Regions from separate parts of the Homo sapiens genome. Here all the other regions are linked to region 4. The links are contacts of gene promoters, found by promoter capture Hi-C in blood cells and fetal thymus (Javierre and others, 2016). All regions are on one chromosome and are shown on one strand. The core of a region is centred on a gene start or on the middle of the fragment in contact, and the rest is flanking DNA. Distances in the headings are between cores, read along the strand shown. Region 1 holds the start of AQP10 (aquaporin 10). Region 2 has its middle 20 kb from the start of IL6R. Region 3 overlaps KCNN3 (potassium calcium-activated channel subfamily N member 3). Region 4 holds the start of UBE2Q1-AS1 (UBE2Q1 antisense RNA 1). Region 5 overlaps IL6R (interleukin 6 receptor).

The links. Contacts are between HindIII fragments. The CHiCAGO score rates a contact against its expected background, and 5 or more counts as called.
Region 1: a contact is called between the fragment with the promoter of AQP10 here and the fragment with the promoter of UBE2Q1-AS1 in region 4, in 11 of 17 cell types (M0 macrophages, non-activated CD4 T cells, endothelial precursors and 8 more). The highest score is 10.1, in M0 macrophages.
Region 2: a fragment that was not itself captured here is called in contact with the fragment with the promoter of UBE2Q1-AS1 in region 4 in 2 of 17 cell types (endothelial precursors and megakaryocytes); the score reaches 7.9 in endothelial precursors.
Region 3: a contact is called between a fragment that was not itself captured here and the fragment with the promoter of UBE2Q1-AS1 in region 4, in 2 of 17 cell types (megakaryocytes and erythroblasts). The highest score is 7.8, in megakaryocytes.
Region 5: a contact is called between a fragment that was not itself captured here and the fragment with the promoter of UBE2Q1-AS1 in region 4, in 6 of 17 cell types (endothelial precursors, megakaryocytes, M2 macrophages and 3 more). The highest score is 15.7, in endothelial precursors.

What each region holds. Positions count from the first base shown.
Region 1 is chr1:154,319,575-154,323,417 of GRCh38, forward strand. AQP10 (aquaporin 10) reads left to right here and starts at 1,519. Exons shown (of 6, transcript NM_080429.3): 1 at 1,519-1,686; 2 at 2,359-2,485; 3 at 3,408-3,545; 4 at 3,667-3,785. The coding sequence starts at 1,582. RefSeq lists a silencer at 1,298-1,489. The HindIII fragment of the contact is 12,155 bases long and covers 1-3,843 here.
Region 2 is chr1:154,383,404-154,386,931 of GRCh38, forward strand. No RefSeq gene overlaps it. Among named protein-coding and RNA genes, the nearest start is that of IL6R, 20 kb to the right of the region's middle. RefSeq lists an enhancer at 3,341-3,528. The HindIII fragment of the contact is 3,747 bases long and covers 47-3,528 here.
Region 3 is chr1:154,747,371-154,750,998 of GRCh38, forward strand. All of the region lies in intron 3 of KCNN3 (potassium calcium-activated channel subfamily N member 3), which reads right to left. Among named protein-coding and RNA genes, the nearest start is that of KCNN3, 120 kb to the right of the region's middle. RefSeq lists enhancers at 923-1,132, 2,028-2,531 and a silencer at 1,781-1,830. The HindIII fragment of the contact is 1,620 bases long and covers 1,226-2,845 here.
Region 4 is chr1:154,551,929-154,555,394 of GRCh38, forward strand. It overlaps UBE2Q1-AS1 (UBE2Q1 antisense RNA 1), which reads left to right and starts at 1,681. Exons shown (of 2, transcript NR_046668.1): 1 at 1,681-1,744; 2 at 2,722-3,100. UBE2Q1 (ubiquitin conjugating enzyme E2 Q1) reads right to left here. Exons shown (of 13, transcript NM_017582.7): 4 at 2,807-2,857; 5 at 1,104-1,244; 6 at 808-892; 7 at 476-536; 8 at 165-255; 9 at 1-51. The HindIII fragment of the contact is 6,880 bases long and covers 1-3,466 here.
Region 5 is chr1:154,407,831-154,411,384 of GRCh38, forward strand. The region is part of intron 1 of IL6R (interleukin 6 receptor); the gene reads left to right. Among named protein-coding and RNA genes, the nearest start is that of IL6R-AS1, 3.0 kb to the left of the region's middle. The HindIII fragment of the contact is 3,649 bases long and covers 215-3,554 here.

The sequences.
Region 1 (3,843 bases), core at 269-2,768, 230 kb before region 4:
CACAGATGTGCCCAGGACAGTGGTAGAGCCCACAGGGTTACATAAATCATAATGGTAGCCCTCAAGAACTTCATAAACTGTATATGGTATTTTAAAAAGTTGCATATTGTCTGTTTCCACCTACTAGAACATAAGCTCTAGGAGGGCAGAGACTATGTTTTGTTCACCACTGTTTCTCCAGTGTCTAGACGTAGATTCTTTGAATGCATTTAATTGGAGCCTTGAGATATGAAGAAGTAGGATGCGGTTACTTCATGCAGAGCAAGAGTGGCATGCACCCAGAGAAGGCCAGGTGGAGCTCAGCATGAGTGTGAAGGCCTCATGTCAAGCCATGTCAGGGGACACAAAGATGGAGTATTCTCTAACCTATGTGACACTCGGCATAAGGGAAGTACAAGCACTCAATATGTGAGTTTCATTCCCACAGTCTGTGGTCTTTAGCCCAGTCTTTCCAGATGCCTATTGAGTTCTTCAAGCATCCAAATGGTTTGGGGTAAGGCTTCAGGTTCTAAATGAGAGGCTTTGTGGGTTACCAGCTGGAGAGTCAGAAAATCTGGATTTGAATTCACTCAGCCATGAAATAATTGTGTGATCTTGGGCCGGGCACGGTGGCTCACGCTTGTAATCCCAGCACTTTGGGAGGCCAAGGAAGGTGAATCACTAGAGGTCAGGAGTTTGAGACCAGCCTGGCCAACATGGTGAAACCCCGTCTTTTTTTTTTTTTTTTTTTTTGAGACAAAGTCTCGCTCTGTTGCCAGGCTGGAGTGCAGTGGCACAATCTCGGCTCACTGCAACCTCCGCCTCCCTGGTTCAAGTGATTCCCCTGCCTCAGCCTCCCGAGTAGCTGGGACTACAGGCGTGCACCACCACGCTAATTTTTTTGTATTTTAGTAGAGATGGAGTTTCACCATGTTGGCCAGGATAGTCTTGATCTCCTGACCTCGTGATCTGCCTGCCTCGGCCTCCCGAGAAACCAAGTCTTTACTAAAAAATATCAAAATTAGCCAGGTGTGATGGACCTGTAGTCCCATCTACTTGGGAGGCTGAGGCAGGAGAATTGCTTGAACCTGGGAGGTGGAGGTTGCAGTAAGCTGAGATGGTGCCACTGCACTCCAGCCTGGGGGACAGAGCAAGACTCTCTCTCAGAAAAAAAAAAAAAAAAAGTTTGATCTTGGGGAGTTCTAAGGCCCACTAGCCTCATCTGTAGAATGGAAGCAATAGTACTACTTTGCAGAGCTGACTTCAGGACCAAGAGATCTAATGTCTATGAAGCGGGGTACTTCCTTCTATTTGTCAGGATGGGGGAGGCTAGTCCTGTGATGACTGGGAATGAAGGGTAAAAGAGACAGAGGTTGGGTAAACTCCAGGCTCTGTGTTCATAGCCTGCTCCCAGACATTCTCTTGTTATCTCTCTGTTTCCTAGCCTACACACGTGCACAGACACGTAGCTGCTGTTCAGGAACTGAGCTAATGGTTTTAAAGTCTGTTCCTTATCTTTGCTGGAGGCAGGCAGTAGCTGTGCAGTGACAGTGTGCCTATGCAGACAGAGGGAGCAGTGAATAGCAATAGGGTGTTTCCACCATGGTCTTCACTCAGGCCCCGGCTGAAATCATGGGCCACCTCCGGATACGCAGCCTCCTGGCCCGGCAGTGCCTGGCAGAGTTTCTGGGTGTGTTTGTACTCATGGTAGGTAGGATCACTGCGGGAAGGAAAGAAGGGGGTTGGGCAAAAGTTCCTGGCTCCTTCTGTTGTCCTTATCTCTTTCTCTTGGTGTCCCCCTTCCTCTCAACTCCCTATCACTTTTCGTTTTTATCCTCTCGTCTCTCCTAATCTCCTTTCCTCTCCTACTTCATCATTTTTATTCTTGTCATTTTTATTCTTTCTTTAATAACAAGTGTATCATAGTTCTTGAAACATAATTTTTCTCTCTTCAGTTTCCCATTTTTATGAAAGACCATTTTCATGGTAAGACCAATGTGCTTTATTATACTTGGCCTGATGATTGTATAAAGTGCAGCAAGAATAATTATTTTTCACATAGGCTTTTAAAATTGGCTTTGATGGAACTCTTCCATAGAAAGAATCTTAGATAAGACTTTTTAAAGCTGAGCCCTGCCATGGGTTTGTACCCTCAAATGCCTATGAGTTGGGTAAATTCTTTTCTTTTTTCCCACATTCTTTCCCTTTCTTCTTCCTCCACTTTCCCCATTTCTTTTCCCTTCCCTCCTTCTGCTTTTCTCCTTCCCTTGCTTGTCTTCTGTGCTCATTCATCTCCTTGGCTGCTCCCCTGGCCTTCCCAACCTTTCTCCCTGTTGGTCTCCTGGGCTCCCTGTTCCTCATCTCTCCTCTTCTCAGCAGCTCCTCACCCAAGGAGCTGTGGCCCAGGCTGTCACCAGTGGAGAAACCAAAGGCAACTTCTTCACCATGTTTCTGGCTGGCTCTCTGGCCGTTACGATAGCCATCTACGTGGGTGGTAACGTCTCAGGTGAGGAGGGTGGGGTCTGGTCATCAGAGCACGTGGGATGTGCATGCCAGTTTGTCTGTCTGGTGATGGTGGAAACGCAAATCCTTCTGTGACTCGTGGACATTATCCCCTTGAACAGTGTCCCAGACTGAAATAAGCCTTTGGCCCCACCAGCCCCTCCTCTTTCTGTATCTCTCCATCCTGCTTCCTCACACTAATGCTTGGCTCACCTAGACAGAAATCAATGGCAGGGCACGAAGGGCAGCTGCTATCCTCTTGTATCCCCCACCTGAAGTCCTCTGGGGGCTCATCTCCACTCAGGACCTCTCCTGTTTGTACCCCAGATACACACTGCATCGGTGTGCTTGGGTGGAGCCTTGAGACATAGTGTGTTGCTGTGGAAAAAGCAGACAGACCTAGGTTCCAACTTTGGATTCACAGTGTCTTCTTCTTTTTTTTTTTTTTTTTTCTTTTTTTTTGAGATGGAGTTTCACTCTGTTGCCCAGGCTGGAGAGCAGTGGTGTGATGTCTGTTCACTGCAACCTCTGCCCCTGGGTTCACGCGATTCTCCTGCCTCAGCATCCCGAATAGCTGATTTTACAGGCACCTGCTACCACGCCTGGCTAATATTTGTGTTTTTAGTGGAAACGGGGTTTCACCATGTTGGCCAGGCTGGTCTGGAATTCCTGACCTCAAGTGATCCACTGCCTCGGCCTCCCAAAGTGCTGGGATTACAGGCGTGAGCCACTGTGCCTGGCCCACAGTGTGACTTTGCTAAGTCACTTAACATCTGTAACATCTGGAGCCTCAATTTCCTAAGCTGTGTGATGAGAATTACACTATCTGCCTTAAGAGCTATAGGAAGGAGCAGTAGTGTTGTCTGGTGACAATGCCTGGCAGTGACACTTAATAGATGCTCTTTTTCTTTCCTTGATACTTGAAGGGGCCCACCTGAATCCAGCCTTCTCCCTGGCCATGTGCATCGTTGGACGCCTCCCCTGGGTCAAGCTCCCCATTTACATCTTGGTGCAGTTGCTGTCTGCTTTCTGTGCTTCGGGAGCCACCTATGTTCTCTACCATGGTGACAGAGGGAACAGAGGGAGCTGTGCCTTGAGAGCACCTGTGGGTGGGCAGGGGTGCCTCAGAATGGTTTTGGATGAATGAGCAAAGAGGGAAATCCTGGGTGTTCCCTTCCTCCACAGATGCCCTACAGAACTATACAGGTGGGAACCTGACAGTGACTGGCCCCAAGGAGACAGCCTCCATTTTTGCCACCTATCCTGCCCCCTATCTGTCCCTGAACAATGGCTTCCTGGATCAGGTAAGTGTGAGGGGGAGACCTGGGGACACTACTTTGGTCCTGTTCCTCGGCACCCCAG
Region 2 (3,528 bases), core at 670-3,169, 170 kb before region 4:
TATATCTTAATCTGGGTGGTGCTTTCCTGGATGTATTCCTATGCAAAGCTTTATTGAACTATGCACTTCACATTAATGCACTTCACAGCTACGTATAATATATTTTAATAAAAAGGTATATAAAAATACTATTTGGCTGGGTGCCGTGGCTCATGCCTGTAATCCCAGCTCTTTGGGAGGGCAAGGCAGGTGGATCACCTGAGGTCAGGAGTTCAAGACCAGCCTGATAAACATGGTGAAACCCCGTCTCTACTAAAATACAAAAATTAGTCAGGCGTGGTGGTGCACGCTTGTAATCCCAGCTACTCGGGAGTCTGAGGCAGTAGAATCGCTTGAATTTGGGAGATGGAGATTGCAGTGAGTCAAGATGGCACCACTGCACTCCAGCCTGGGTTACAGAGCAAGACTCCATCTCAAAAACAAACAAACAAACAAACAAACATCCCTTTGTGTCCTGTCTCAGACACTATTCCCCATCTCCCCAAAGGTAGCCTGTATCCTGATCCCCAACACTATAGATCATTTTTGCACCTTATATAAATGGAATCATGTAGTATGTACTATTTTGTAACGTGTGCCCGTGTGTCTTTTATGTTCATGAAATTTACCATCACATGCTGTACAAAAATAGGTAGTAGGCCAGATGTGACCTGAGGGCAATGGTTTTCTTTTCCTTTTTCTTTCTTTTTTTTTTTTTTTTTGGAGACAGAGTCTTGCTCTGTCATCCAGGCTGGAGTACAATGGCGTGATCTCGGCTCACTGCATTCTCTGCCTCCCAGGTTCAAGCGATTCTCATGACTCAGCCTCCCGAGTTGCTAGGAATACAGGCGTGAGCTACTACACCTGGATAATTTTTGTATTTTTAGTAGAGATGGGGTTTCACAATGTTGGCCAGGTTGGTCTCGAACTCCTGACCTCAGATGATCTGCCCGCCTCGGCCTCCCAAAGTGCTGGGATTACAGAAGTGAGCCACTGCACCTGGCCCTTTTTTAAGACAAAGTCTCCCTCTATCGCCCAGACTGGAGTGCAGTGGCACTGTGGCTCATGCCTGTAATTCCAGCACTTTTGGAGGCCGAGGTAGGCAGATCACTTGAGGTCAGGAGTTCAAGACCAGCCTGGGCAACATGGTGAAACTCCATCTCTACTAAAAATACAAAAATTAGCTGGGCATGGTGGTGCACGCCTGTAATCCCAGCTACTGGGGAGGCTGAGGCAGGAGAATCGCTTGAAACCGAGAGGCAGAGGTTGCAGCGAGCCGAGATCATGCCACTGCATTCCAGCCCAGGTGACAGAGACCCTGTCTCAAAACAAACAAACAAACAAACGAACCAACCAACCTCCAAATGACGATGCTTGAGCTTTAGCTCAGCTATCTCCAGTTGTCTTTGGGTAATGGGGGTGTCAAGTGGCAATGTTCCAAGTCTGGCTTATCTTGGGGGAACTAAATGGCTGTTATCATTCCCAGGCCTCACATCTACACTCTGCCTGATTCAGAGCAAGGGAGGGGGGTGTCTCCTGTGCCATCCACTGCTCTATCCTCAATCGAACCAAGCCCTTTGACCAGGGAAGTGCTGTGCCCTGTTTGTGCATGCTTGTAGGTACAGGGAAGAGACAGGTGGAGGGAGATCCCCTGACTAGCTTACATCAACCTGGCTCATCTCTGGAATTTGGGATGGAGTTAAACCCAACAACCCCTGGGCCTGCTCCAATGAAGACAGGGAGTGTTTATCAATGAGCAGTGACAATTACTACCTCTCCTGAGAGCAGATGAGTAGGTTTCAGGCATGGGGTTTCTCTAAGTCAGCAAAAAGCACCCGATCCCTAATGACAGAGGAGCAGTGTGTGTTAAATGTGTGTGTGCACATGTGTGAATAATTCAGGGCCCTCTAACCATGAGGCCCGGGACAAGAGCCACACTTGCCCACATGAAGTCAATGCTCTTGTCTGCAAGAACATTGTTTATTGTGGCTGGAGCCCAGATAACAAGGAGAAAGTGGCAAGAGATGAGGCAGGAGAGAAAAGCAGGGTGACTTCTGGAGAACCCTTTTCTCGGTGAAGGGATTTCAGCCTTATTCTGGGAATAAGCCAGAGCCCTGAGGGGTTTTAAGTGGAGGAGAGCCAGCCCCACCCCAACTCAGTGGCTTTAGGGGTCATTCTTCCCATGCTACCATTTCCCATGGTTCAAAGATTAACAATAGGGCTAACTTCCAATTTATTCAATTCTCAGGTTATTTATTCAATAATCTAGTGTTCTTCCTCTCTACTTCCTCCTCTTCAGTACCTTGTTGTGGGTGGAGCTCCAGGAAGAGGATGGGGCGTGGTGCCTAGAGGCGGAAGTGTGTATCTTGATTGTTTAACCTGGGAACCCTGAGGGCAGAGGGCGTAGGGGTTGGGAGAGGAAAGGAAGGCGCTAGGAAGACACTGGAAAGACCCCATAAGCGTAGCAGCTCCTAAACCACAGCTAAGCATGTCTGGAGGAGAAGCCTGAATCCGAAAGCAATGAGGAAATGATTAGTGGTTTCATAGTAGGTTGTCTGTAGCTGCAGACACACAGGCGTTTTTGTACACAGGTAAATACAGGCCTGTTCTGTTATTGACCACACGTTTGTATGAAGCTCCAAACTCATGTGTCCTCCTGTTCTCCTGTTTTTTTTTTTTTTTTTGAGACGGAGTTTCGCTCTTGTTGTCCAGGCTAGAGTGCAATGGCACGATCTCGGCTCACGGCAAACTCCACCTCCCAGGTTCAAGCGATTCTCCTGCCTCAGCCTCCTGAGTAGGTGGGATTACAGGCACGCGCCACCATGCCTGGGTAATTTTTGTATTTTTAGTAGAGACGAGGCTTCACTATGTTGACCAGGCTGGTCTCAAACTCCTGACCTTAGGTGATCCACCTACCTCAGCCTCCCAAAGTGCTGGAATTACAGGTGTGAGCAACTGTGCCTGGCCTCTCTGAAGTATTATTTGATATTTTTCTTTTGAAGTTTTCTTCTTCCTGTGTAGAAACTATTTCTGCAAATTGCTTTTCAGTCTGCTTTTTGCTCATTTGTTTTTATCTTCCATGTCTGAGGTTTTTTTCAGCTGTCTGGTGATCTTTGACTGATTATTTATAAGACAGGCAAATATCAGTTAAGTCCTTACAGTAAACATATGGTTTACTCAAGTTAGGATTATTTTAGGAGGATTTCTTTACAAAATGGCCATTTACAAAGACAGAGTATAGGAGAGCTATAACCTTTGGTTGAGAGACACAGGCAGCCTAAGAGAGGAACCCTCTAAGAGAAGAACCAGAGGAACAGATATCTTGATCTCACGCTCCTCCTCCCTCTGGTCTTCCGGGTTCTGCGTTGTCTAGACCAACTGCTAGTCAGAGGGTGTGGGGTATTGCTCATGTGGTCTCTTCCTGGAATACCCCCAGTGCAGAGGGCCAGGCAGCGTGGGTGGGGAGTAGCAAAGAGAAAGCTCTGACATGGGAACGAAGGCGCTGATTGGAAGCTCACATGGTGGGCATCTGGACGGGACTGTTTGCTG
Region 3 (3,628 bases), core at 786-3,285, 200 kb after region 4:
GCTCCCCCTCTCCTAGGTGTGGGAAGAGGAGAGGGGACGTTCTCAGCCTCTGCACAGCGACACACTGGGGCAGACAAACAGTCTCTCTGGGGCTAATAGTAGTTGAAGGATTGACATTTGTGAACGATTTATTTTTTTTGTTATGGCAGTTTCAAGGCTATCCTGTGATAATATCACTCTCGCTATCTGGTACTCTGATTTGCTTTCTTCAGTGGAAAGGAAGGGCCGGGACTCCAGCTAGCCTGATGGAAATGATTTATAACCTGGGGCACACCCACAGCAGAAGTCGGCTGTCTGAATATCATCTCTCCTGCATCGCTGGAATCAAAGAAACAAGTACATAAATAAGGTTGGAAACTGTTGGCTGATAGAAGAGTCATTCCAAAATCCTTAGGCTGGTGAAAAAGGCCCGTGCCTGCTCCTGTAGCGTTGAGTGCACTGCCGCATCTTATGACACCCCAGCAAGCAACTGCTTATTCTCTCCTCCAATCCATGCTCCCCCACCTCCGAGCTTCCCTCATGCTGGCCCCTCTGCCCGGAGGCCCCTTAGGCCTAGGAAATCACCTCCTCCGGAAAGCCGTCCCGGATCAAGTGCCCTCTGTGGAGCCCCTTCTTCCCCATTCTCCCTCACTTCTCACCACCGGCTCTTGGCCATCTCCACCCCCAGCACCAGCCTCCATTGGTTGGTTGGTTTGTCGGTCGGCAGGTGCTGAGAAAGCTGGTCAGAGCTACTGAAGGAAGCTGTGAATGAACAAGGACTTAGGGGAAAGTGACGTTTAAACCTGGTCTCATCTCACTCCCTGCTGTGGGCCTCTGCTTTCTGTTTAAAGCCATTCTGGGTCTCTGCTTGCTCTCACAGCTGCTGTCTGTCTGTGGTTTTCATTGAGCTCCACCCGCCCGGGGCCCTCAGTCTGCCGCCCGCGCCTGCAAGCTTTCTCTCTCCTGGTTGAGCCTTTCCCGACATCTGCCATCAGTCACAGAGCGTGACTTGGAAGCAAAGGGGCTTCACAGTTCATCGTTTTTTATATACAGAGAGAAGAACAACAGTAGTTGGGATTCTTGCAAAATACTTCCTCAAAGATCTTAGAGATGATCTACTTCTCATTTCATTTTATTTCTGGGGCTATCTCTGTGTGGTAGGTAAGACTGGATGCTAATCTTATTTGAAGAGATAACAATAATCACTATCATTTCTCAAGTGCCAATCACGTGCCATGTGGGCCAAAGCTTTATGCGCATTACTGAATTTAATCCTCAAAAAACAAGACTCATAACTGTCACTTCCTATTTTACTGAATTGGAAAATTAGACCAGGTGCAGTGGCTCATGCCTGTAATCCAAGCACTTTGGGAGGCTGAGACAGAAGGATCCCTTGAGCCCAGGATTTCAAGACCAGACTGGGCAACATAGTGAGATGCTGTCTCTACAAAAAATGAATAAAATTAGCAGGGCATGGTGGTACGTGTCTATAGTCCCAGCTATTCTGGAGGCTGAGGTGGGAGGATCACTTGATTAATTACTAGATTAGGAAACTTGCACAAAATAAAACATCAATTGAGTGGCAGGGCCCGAGTGTGTGCTTGGACTTGCCTGCATCCACAGCCCTGTCTTTGACCATATTGCACCTTGGAGGAGCCCTGTCTTTGACCATATTACACCTTGGAGGAGGTGGAGACCTAAAAAGGGAGGTGAGATGAGTGGAGAGACTGGTGGGGATTCTCTCTCTCTCAGGTATCTCATCCTGGATCTGTGTTATAATGAGCCATGCTTCCCAGGAGAGTAAGACAGAGCCAGGGCTGCCCTGTTCAGCAGCATAGGTTGCGCACTGTGCAACTCCAAGGAGTGCCAGTCACGAAGACTTCAATGTGAATGGCACCCCCTGGAGGGAAGTGCTGCATAGGCAGTGCTCCTGGCAAGAGCCCTAAAGAAAAGACGGGTGTCTTGCTCTTCTCAGTTATGCTTTCCAAAGATAATTAAAGGCAGGCAGCTCCCCAGGCAAGCAAATGTTGTGGAAGGCACACAAAGCTGCAGCCTCACCTAGGCAGGGTTAGTGTGGGAAGGACGTGGGAATCACCCTGTGACCAAGAACAAAGAGGAACAGCACAGAACAAGTACCCTGGGAAGGAATTTTCTTGTTTTTGTTTCCCAGAGCAGTGGGGTTCCCAGGGCAGGACGTGGGAGCTCTGGTTGGGCGTCTTTCCCTGCCACAGAGAAGACAGGGTGCCAAGGAGGAGCCTGGGACGTCAGGGCGAGTGGGAAGAATTCTGACTCAGCAGAGGTTGCAAAGTAGCCCCCAGGGAATCAGAGAGAGAGGAAGATAGAGAAAGAGAGGGACAGGGATGGAGACAGAGACAATGGCTGGAAGGGGAGGAGTCTGAGGGCAAGGGCACCTGGGTGAGGGTCTGGCCTGAGCATGAGGGGCCTGAGGACAGGGATATGCACAATAATGCCCTGACCCGGGGTCCCCACGGCCGTGGGGCTTGGGGAGACTACGGGATGCTCCCGGACCACAAGCAGCCTGCCCAGGGAGTGCAGCTGTCCCTGACCTCTCGCCTCTTTCCATAGGCCTGGGCTACGCAGAAAGGCACATTTCCCTGCTTTCTGGGAGTGGGCTCTGGCCAAGTGAAGCGTCACGAAGTCTGGGATGGGAGTAGTTTCTCAGGGGCTGGTCCGGCCCCAACTGCCCACAGCCAAGTCACCTGAGCCTTGGTTTACATGATTAACTGAAAATTCTGGTACACGTCAGGAATAAAGCTAATTCCGAAGGTCAACACTATATGGAGAAAGGAATGGAGACAGCCAGTCGCACACACTTTTCCCTCAGAAGGGCCTTTCTTGCTGGAGAAGCTTCTAAAGCCTCGAAGCTGGTGCACCCCAAGCTCTGGAGAGCAGCGGCTGGAAGGGAAGGCTCCAGGCCTGGTGCTCAGGCCAAGGGCCTCCTGCACCCCTCCTCACCCATTTCCTCGGCCCCAGGAGCAGAATGAAAGAGATATGAAGAGACAGATTGCCTTCAGCAATCCTTTTCTCTGCCTCTTGAACTGAGAGATTCTTACTTAAGGAAAGGAAGGAGCAGGATAAAGAGATGACCCATCTGGAGATGCCTTCTCACCTGTGGGGTCTGAAGGGAATAGAGCAAAACCCCCTTCGCATCAACTCTCACAGCTCTGGGCCTCCCTCTCTTCATCTGGGAAGGGTGGGGGGCTGGGTCCATGTGCATTAGGGCCCCTTCCAGCTCTAAGGAGCTGTAATTCTCAGAGAATGTTTTCTTACCCGTTTCCCACACTAGATGGAGAGCTGGTTAGGTAGGGGAGTGGGCAGCTGCAGCCCTGATCCTTGATAAGGGTCTTAAGAGACCATCTTTGAAGACACAGATGCCCAGGAGGCTTGCCCTAAATCAGCCTCATGGTGACAAGTGTCGTGGCTGTGCTCGGGGTCTCTGCATACAGTGGGATTCTCCTGGGGAGCATCAGCTCAGAGGCCCAGGACCCCCTCAGCTTCTGAGCTTTCCTGGGGCGGTGAGAGCAGCCCTGGACACGTGGCTGAAGGCCTGGGCAGCAGGGGCCTGCCTGCTGTGTCAGCTTTACCATCAGAGTCACTGAGTCTTGGGGCTCCCTCTAGCCCAGTTCAC
Region 4 (3,466 bases), core at 431-2,930:
GAGGACTGGAGACACAACCCTGACAAATGGTGGGTCAAAGGGAAAGTTATCCTGAGAGAGAGAGAGACGACAATCAGGGGAGGGAGGCCAGCATCCTCCACAGGACTGTCAGGCAGACTGGGCAGCCTAGGCCAGAGGGAGAGACTGGAAAAGAAAAGTCTTACTTTAAAGGAAAAGTTAAGTAGAATGAAGTCGGCTCCTTCTTTCTCTTTGAGGATCTGGAGATCGTTGTGCAAAGCGCTGTCCTGGTCAACTCTAAGAAGCAACAAGCCTGGGCTCAGATGCCTGGTTCCACCTCAGGAGCTTCATAAGGGCTCCCCTGCCCTGGCTGGCAGCAGACCACGAAACCACTGCCCACACCCGCTCCGGGACCCTGAATGAAAATGCTGGATGGGGCTGCCCTGGAGATCCCACCACAGTAGCCCCACTCACACTCCTCCTCAACTTCCTCTCCAATCCCAGAGTCCCCACTCACTTGAGGAGTTTGACATTCCAATCATACAGACTGTCATTCACGAGTTCGACTGCATAGTTTCCTGGAAGGAGGGAAAAAACAGGTGTTAGTAGAATGGTCCAGGTGGTGAGTGGTCTCTAATGCAGACCCCTTTCCCAGACTGAGAGAAAAAGATCAACAGCTCTAGGTTCACCACAGATGGACATGCAACCAAGCCACTGGCTTGAGGAGCTCCATTCTTGGCCTGAAAAGTTCATAAGCACTCCTGGACCCCAGAACCTCTTGGGCCCCTTGCCACCATACCCTTCTTTATGGGTGACTCTTGTGCAGGCCCCTCTCTGGGGCAAACTCACCGCCTTTGAAACTCTGTGATCGGTATATATCCCTGAGCTCCTTCATCAGCCGGTCAGTGGCCTGCACCGAGCCAGACACTGCACCCTGTGAGGGACGGATGACAGGAACATTCCTTGGTCGTGTGGTTTATAAACACACGTTAGACCTTAGGGGCAGTCTGGCAGCTTGCCCAGGATTTAAGAAAGGATTAGGCACAAAAAAGGAGTCTGCTCTCCATACTGAGATGCGATGGCCTACTACTTCCCAGCCATTTCCCACCAACCCCTTCACCAGCCTCTCTCTAGAAGGCACGTACATTTAAGTAATCTTGCCTCTGGTTCTTTTTAATTTTCTCTAGGATGGCCAAGTTTTCTTTTCCAATGCCATCATCTTCAGATTTCTTGCCCTCAGCTGGCTCTTCCTCTTTCATTTCATAGTGATCTAAGTCTTCTGTGTCCTGGAGGAGGTGTGGGGTGGGAGTGAAAAGAAAAGGAAAAAAACCGACACAGGTTAGAGAATGACCATCACCTTCCCAGTCCCATTTGGCGAAGAGCCAAAAGTTAAAGTGAAGCAGTCCATCTAGCAGTCTTATAAACGCAACGTGCTTTCCATTTTTAGAACAATTTCCAGCCCCATTCCCTCCACAGTCTAAATCTTCAGCTCTCAAGCTACAGCAAGGACTTCGGAAACGAGCAGAGCTGCAGCTGAGATCGAGGCAGGGACTTAGCCCTCTTGTTTCCTGGACTGACCCTGCTCCAACTGTTCCTAAAACTCCCTTGGCAGCAGAAACTCTTCCCTAATTCCTAGCAGAAATGACTTGGGCCTGACCCTGTGACTCAAAGCTCATGTTTCACCAGGTGACTATTGCACCCGGGAGTTCTCAGGGCCCCAAGCCTAAAGGAGAAACCTGAATCATTACATCTCCTCTCCTCGCTACAAATGCAAGGCATGAATCAGGTATGCAGAGGCACGCACTGCCAGATGGAAATGAGAAAGGATGTCCAGAGAGATATATGGAAGAGGTCAAGAACAGAATTAGCCCCTTATTCATCCTGCTCTAAGTGAGCAAGCAACTAGCTCACTGAGCATAGGGAAGGAGGAGAACCTATGTAGGGTTGAGCCCCTCAGCCAGATGTTGGGGGTGTGGCCCAGAGGGCTGTCCACTATCTGGGAGGAGTAAATTTCATGTCGTCAGCCCTTTGCCAGTCTCAAGAACCTTACACGGTTATAGAACCTGGGATATTAATCTAATGCTAGGAAATAAAAGTAATCAGAGTGATCTCCCCATTTCTGGCAGGACATACCTAATTACCACACCAGCAGGTAATGTCTACTGAGTGTTTATTACATGCCAGGTTCTGTCCTAGGTGCCGCAGATACTAGCTCATTTCATTCTTACCACCATCACTCATTATTCTATCATTATCCATTTTATAGATGCGGAAGCTGAGTCTAGTGAGGTCAATTATCATGCCCAAAGTCACAGCTCTTAGCAGAGCTAAGATTCAGTCAAGTTCTGTCTAGCTCTAAAGCTCAAATTCCTAACCATGATTTTATATTCTGTATGTTTTTAGAGAATATATCAGATAGATTGTTTAGCATTTATCATGTATCATCTGAAGCATTTTATATATAACACCTCATTTAATCTCAAGACAACCATATGCAGTAGGTATTATAATCCTACTTTATAGATAAGAAAACTGTAGCTTAGTGAGATTACATAAAATTCCTCAATTAGGATAGCTAGGATGCAAACACAGGTTTGTTGGACTCCAAAGCCATTTGAAATTAACTTACCCAGTATTTGGTTTGAACCGCGCTGCACCTGTCTTCAGTGGTTGGATATGGGTGCCCTGTCTCCTCTACTACACTGGCTATTCCTCCAGGTCAGTAAATCTGTCTTTATTCCTTTGATATTTTTCTCTCTCCAGTTTTAGACTGGAGTTCTGGATATGGGTACCAATGTTGCTGACTGCAAGAGCTTCCAGCCAATGCCACCTCAGGGGGCAAGCCTACCTCAGGCATCTCCTCATCTTCATCTTCTGAAGACACGTCTTCCTGTGTGCACTGCAGCAAGGAAGGGAAAGATGGAGATCAGAGCCCCAGTGGCTTGCTAGAATGCAGCCTCCAACCTACTCCCCTGAGCCCCCAGGTCTGGAAGTTGTGCGCCTGCCTGTAATGCTGCCAGTCTCTCCACCAGCCAGATCTGAGTGGAAGCAACAGCCCAGGGAATGGCTTTGCTACCAGCCCATTATTTTTCGCCTATCACTGCCAAAGAATAAAAGAAAAGCAAAATGGCTGTCTCTGTCACCCACCTCCTAAATCCTAGTTTAATTCTCCTAAGAACCCCTCCTTTACTTGATCTTCTTTAGACTGATATTGCATTCTTGGTTCTCACCAAGGGGCCTGGGTCCCCAGTGGCCACCAACTGTTATTGCTAAGATAATGGTAAAAATTCCCCCGCTCCCTTTCAACATCTGGGATGCTGCCCATGAGAATGAATTTTGATATCAGAGATGAAGCTACCAGTGCCCCATTTAGCAAAAGAAGATTCCCATCTGGAGAAGAACGAGGGTGAGAGTCATAAGACGTGTATGTTTTTGGGAGCCGGTGGGGATGGAGAGAAACTACTGATTTGTCTCAATTATTTACTGAGTACCCTGTGGGGCAACTCTG
Region 5 (3,554 bases), core at 789-3,288, 140 kb before region 4:
GCCGGTTCCAACACTCTGGTGCTGGAAGGCTGGACTTGGGTGACTCAAGTTCCCTCTTCCTACTGCAATGCAAGAAAATACACAAAAGAAGTATGTATACCTTTAAGTATCTCAAAGAGCTATCTCAGCTTCTGAATTTCCTTCTAGGGCACCTCTTCCTGCCCCCATTACCCACACACGTGCCTAGCCTCACCCTAAATCAGTATTTCTCAAAAGCTTAGTTCTGAGCCTAGCATCAGATCTGGTGTGTGTGCTGGGTGGGAGGGCTTTGGTAAACATGATGATTTTTGAACCCTAACCCAGATTTATTAAATAAGAACACCTAGGAGTGAGGCCTGGGGCATGTCCTTTTAAACAAACTGCCCCTTGTGATTCTTAGGCACTGTCAGGTTTGAGGACGGCTGCCTAAATGGTGTCATTGAGGAACTGAATGAAGGCCCTCCCGCTTCGGGCTCTCTGTTGCCAGAAATCTCTCCTTGCTTTGGCTTGCTGCTTGTTTATTCATTGCAGCAAACATTTCTTGAGTCGGTGTAGAGCCTGTGAGGCCTGTGTAGGATCAGCTATGCAGACTCCACCCTAAAAGGAGCCTGAAAATGGTCATGGGTAAATCCTGAGAAGGGCTGAGAAACCCCAGACTCTGACCGGGCCACTGGGTACCAACTACCCGTGAACAGATTGTCTGGCTTGGGGTAGGGGGTGGTTAGAGAGAGGAAGTTCCTCTGACTGAGGACCAAGATCCCAAGGCAGCAGGCACACTGATCCTGACCCTGACCCTCATCTCCAGCCCTCAGCAGCCAGGGTAAACAAATACTCCCCTCACTGGGTATTTGTAGATTACACAAAGTAACCTAGGTGCTGACTGCTGAAAATATACACTCCCTTCCCCCGTCTCCTGAATCCTGGTCCCACCAGGCCTGGAAGCCACAGACCCAGCAAGCAAAAGAGTTTCCAGTCAATGAATCTAGTCTGGATTGAAGCTGTGCTCTGTAATACGGTAGCCACTAGCCACGTGTACCTATTTAAATTTAAATTATGCCAGCGCAGTGACTCACGCCTGTAATCCCAGTACTTTGGGAGGCTGAGGCAGGAGGATCTCTTGAGCTCAGGAGTTGGAGACCAGCCTGGGCAACAGGGTGAGATGCCGTCTCTACAAAAAGATTTAAAAAATTAGCTGGGCACAGTGACATGAGCCTGTAGTCCCTGCTACTGAGAAGGCTGAGGTGGGAGAATCACTTGAGTCCAGTCTGCATGGAGCCATGTTTGCACTACCGAATTCCAGTCTGGGCGACAGGAGACCCTGTCTCCAAAAAATTAATTTAAATGAAATCAAATAAAAACTTAGTTTCTTAGTTGCACTAGTCACATTTTAAGTGCTCAACACTCACATTGCTAGTGGCTACTGTACTGAACAGTGCAGATACAGATCTCTTCCATCATCGTGGAAAGCCCTACTGGACGGTGCTGGGCTAGAGTGTTAACCAGTTTCTTCCAGAGGTTTTCTGTTCTCTTTTCCTTTATCCCCCTCTGCCTTCTGCTCTCCTCCACCTGAACACAGCTCATTTTGCATAGGTGATGGCTAAGGTCTTCAAGCCAGGCACATCTCTGCCCTGCACTGCCAAGTAAAAATGATAACACCTTGGGCAAGTGATTTAACTTCTTTGACAGCCAGTGTTCTAGAAAATAGAAATAATTGTATTACCTCGAAGGGTGGTTATGAAGATGAGATGAGCTAAGTAAGGTATTAAATAGAGTGTTTACAGAAGTCCCTAACACACAGCAAGTGCTTAAATAAGTGTAGGTGATCATTCATTCACTCCAAAAATATATTTTTGGAGTGAACACCTCCTACTCTGTTCCAGGCACTATTCTAAGAGCTGGAGATACACCATGAATAAAAGAGACAAAAACCCCAGGCTTAGTTGAGTTTCATTCTAGTGTGGGAGACTATTAACAGGATGTAAATTAAGTATGTGGTATGCTAGCGACTAGTGCTAAGGAGAAAAACTAAAGCCGAGAGGGAGACAGACCCCATGTGTGTTTGTGGCAGGGTGGGGTGGCATGGTGCCTTGGATGGGAGGCCAGGGAATGCCTTGCTGAGAACATAATATTTGAGTGAAGACCTGAAGAAAATATACAAATCTCTAGAGATTCCCTATATGTCCATCTTGGGCAGGAAAATTCTTGCCTCCTCTTTAACAATGTGTACTACCTGAGGGTGTGTTATGTTCTGGAGCAGAGGGCTCTGTGGGGACACATGGATGCTCCCTGCCCTGGAGAAGTATCTCTGGGGTAACAAGTCCTCAGCCCTTTAGCTCCTTGAAGTCTAGCAGAGGGAAGTGCTAAATGCCAGGTCATAACTGCAAGTCTGCAGGTGGGATCCTTGAGGGCTGGAGTGGCAAGGGGAAGGTGACAAAGAAAAGGCCTTTTTTTTTTTTTTAAATACAGGATCTTACTCCCGTAGCCCAGGTTGGAGTGCAGTGGCACAATCACTGCTCACTGCAGCCTCGACTTCCTGGTCTCAGGTGATCCTCCCACCTCAGCTTCCGGAATAGCTGGGACTACAGGCGTGCACCACCACATCTGGCTAATTTTTTGTATTTCTTGTAGAGACAGGATTTCGCCATGTTGCAGGCTGCTCTGGAACACCTAGGCTCAAGCAGTTCACCCGCCTTGGCCTCCCAAAGTGCTGGGATTACAGGCGTGAGCCTTTGTGTCCAGCTGGGAGGTTTTTTTGTGTAGTTAATCTGTGTTCTTTACCCTCTCCTCTTGCCTGGGATCTGAAGAGGTCAAAAGTCCCTGGCAAAGGCAGAGGCTTTTCTGCCACTGGGTTCAGGCTTGACGTTAGCTGGACCTCAGCAGCCTCCCCCACTCCTGCTCATCCCTTGCCAGCTCTGTCGGGTGCTTTCTACTCTTAGGAGTATGTCCCTGAGGCCCTGCATCCAGCCTATTCTCCCCAGCACCTGTTCTCTGAATCAGTTCCCACTCCACTTCCCAACCGCTTTCCCGAAAAGCATCCTTTGGTCTTCCCTCTCTATATGATGGTTACAATAACTGTTACCATTTATGGTGTGTCAACTGTGTGCAAGTAGCTGTGCTAGGCCCTTGGCATCTGTGATCTCATGTAATCTTCAAAACAGCCTCAGGTGAGAGAAGTGCTGGCCCCATTGCATAGATGGTGGGCTGTAGGACAAGATGAGAGGCCAGTTTTGCACATATGGAAACAAATGTCTTTTGTTTTCGTTTTTGTTTTGAGACAGAGTCTCTGTCTCCCAGGCTGGAGTGCAGTGGTGCAATCTTGGCTCACTGCAACCTCTGCCTCCCGGGTTCAAGCGATTCTCCTGCCTCTGCCTCCAGAGTAGCTGGCATTACGGGTGCACACCACCACACCTGGCTAATTTTTGTATTTTTAGTAGAGATGGGGTTTCACCAGGTTGCCAGTCTGGTCTCGAACTCCTGACCTCAAGTGATCTGCCTGCCTCGGCCTCCCAAAGTGCTATAGGATTGCAGGCATGAGCCACCGCGCCTGGCCGCAACGAGACAATCAAGAGAAGATG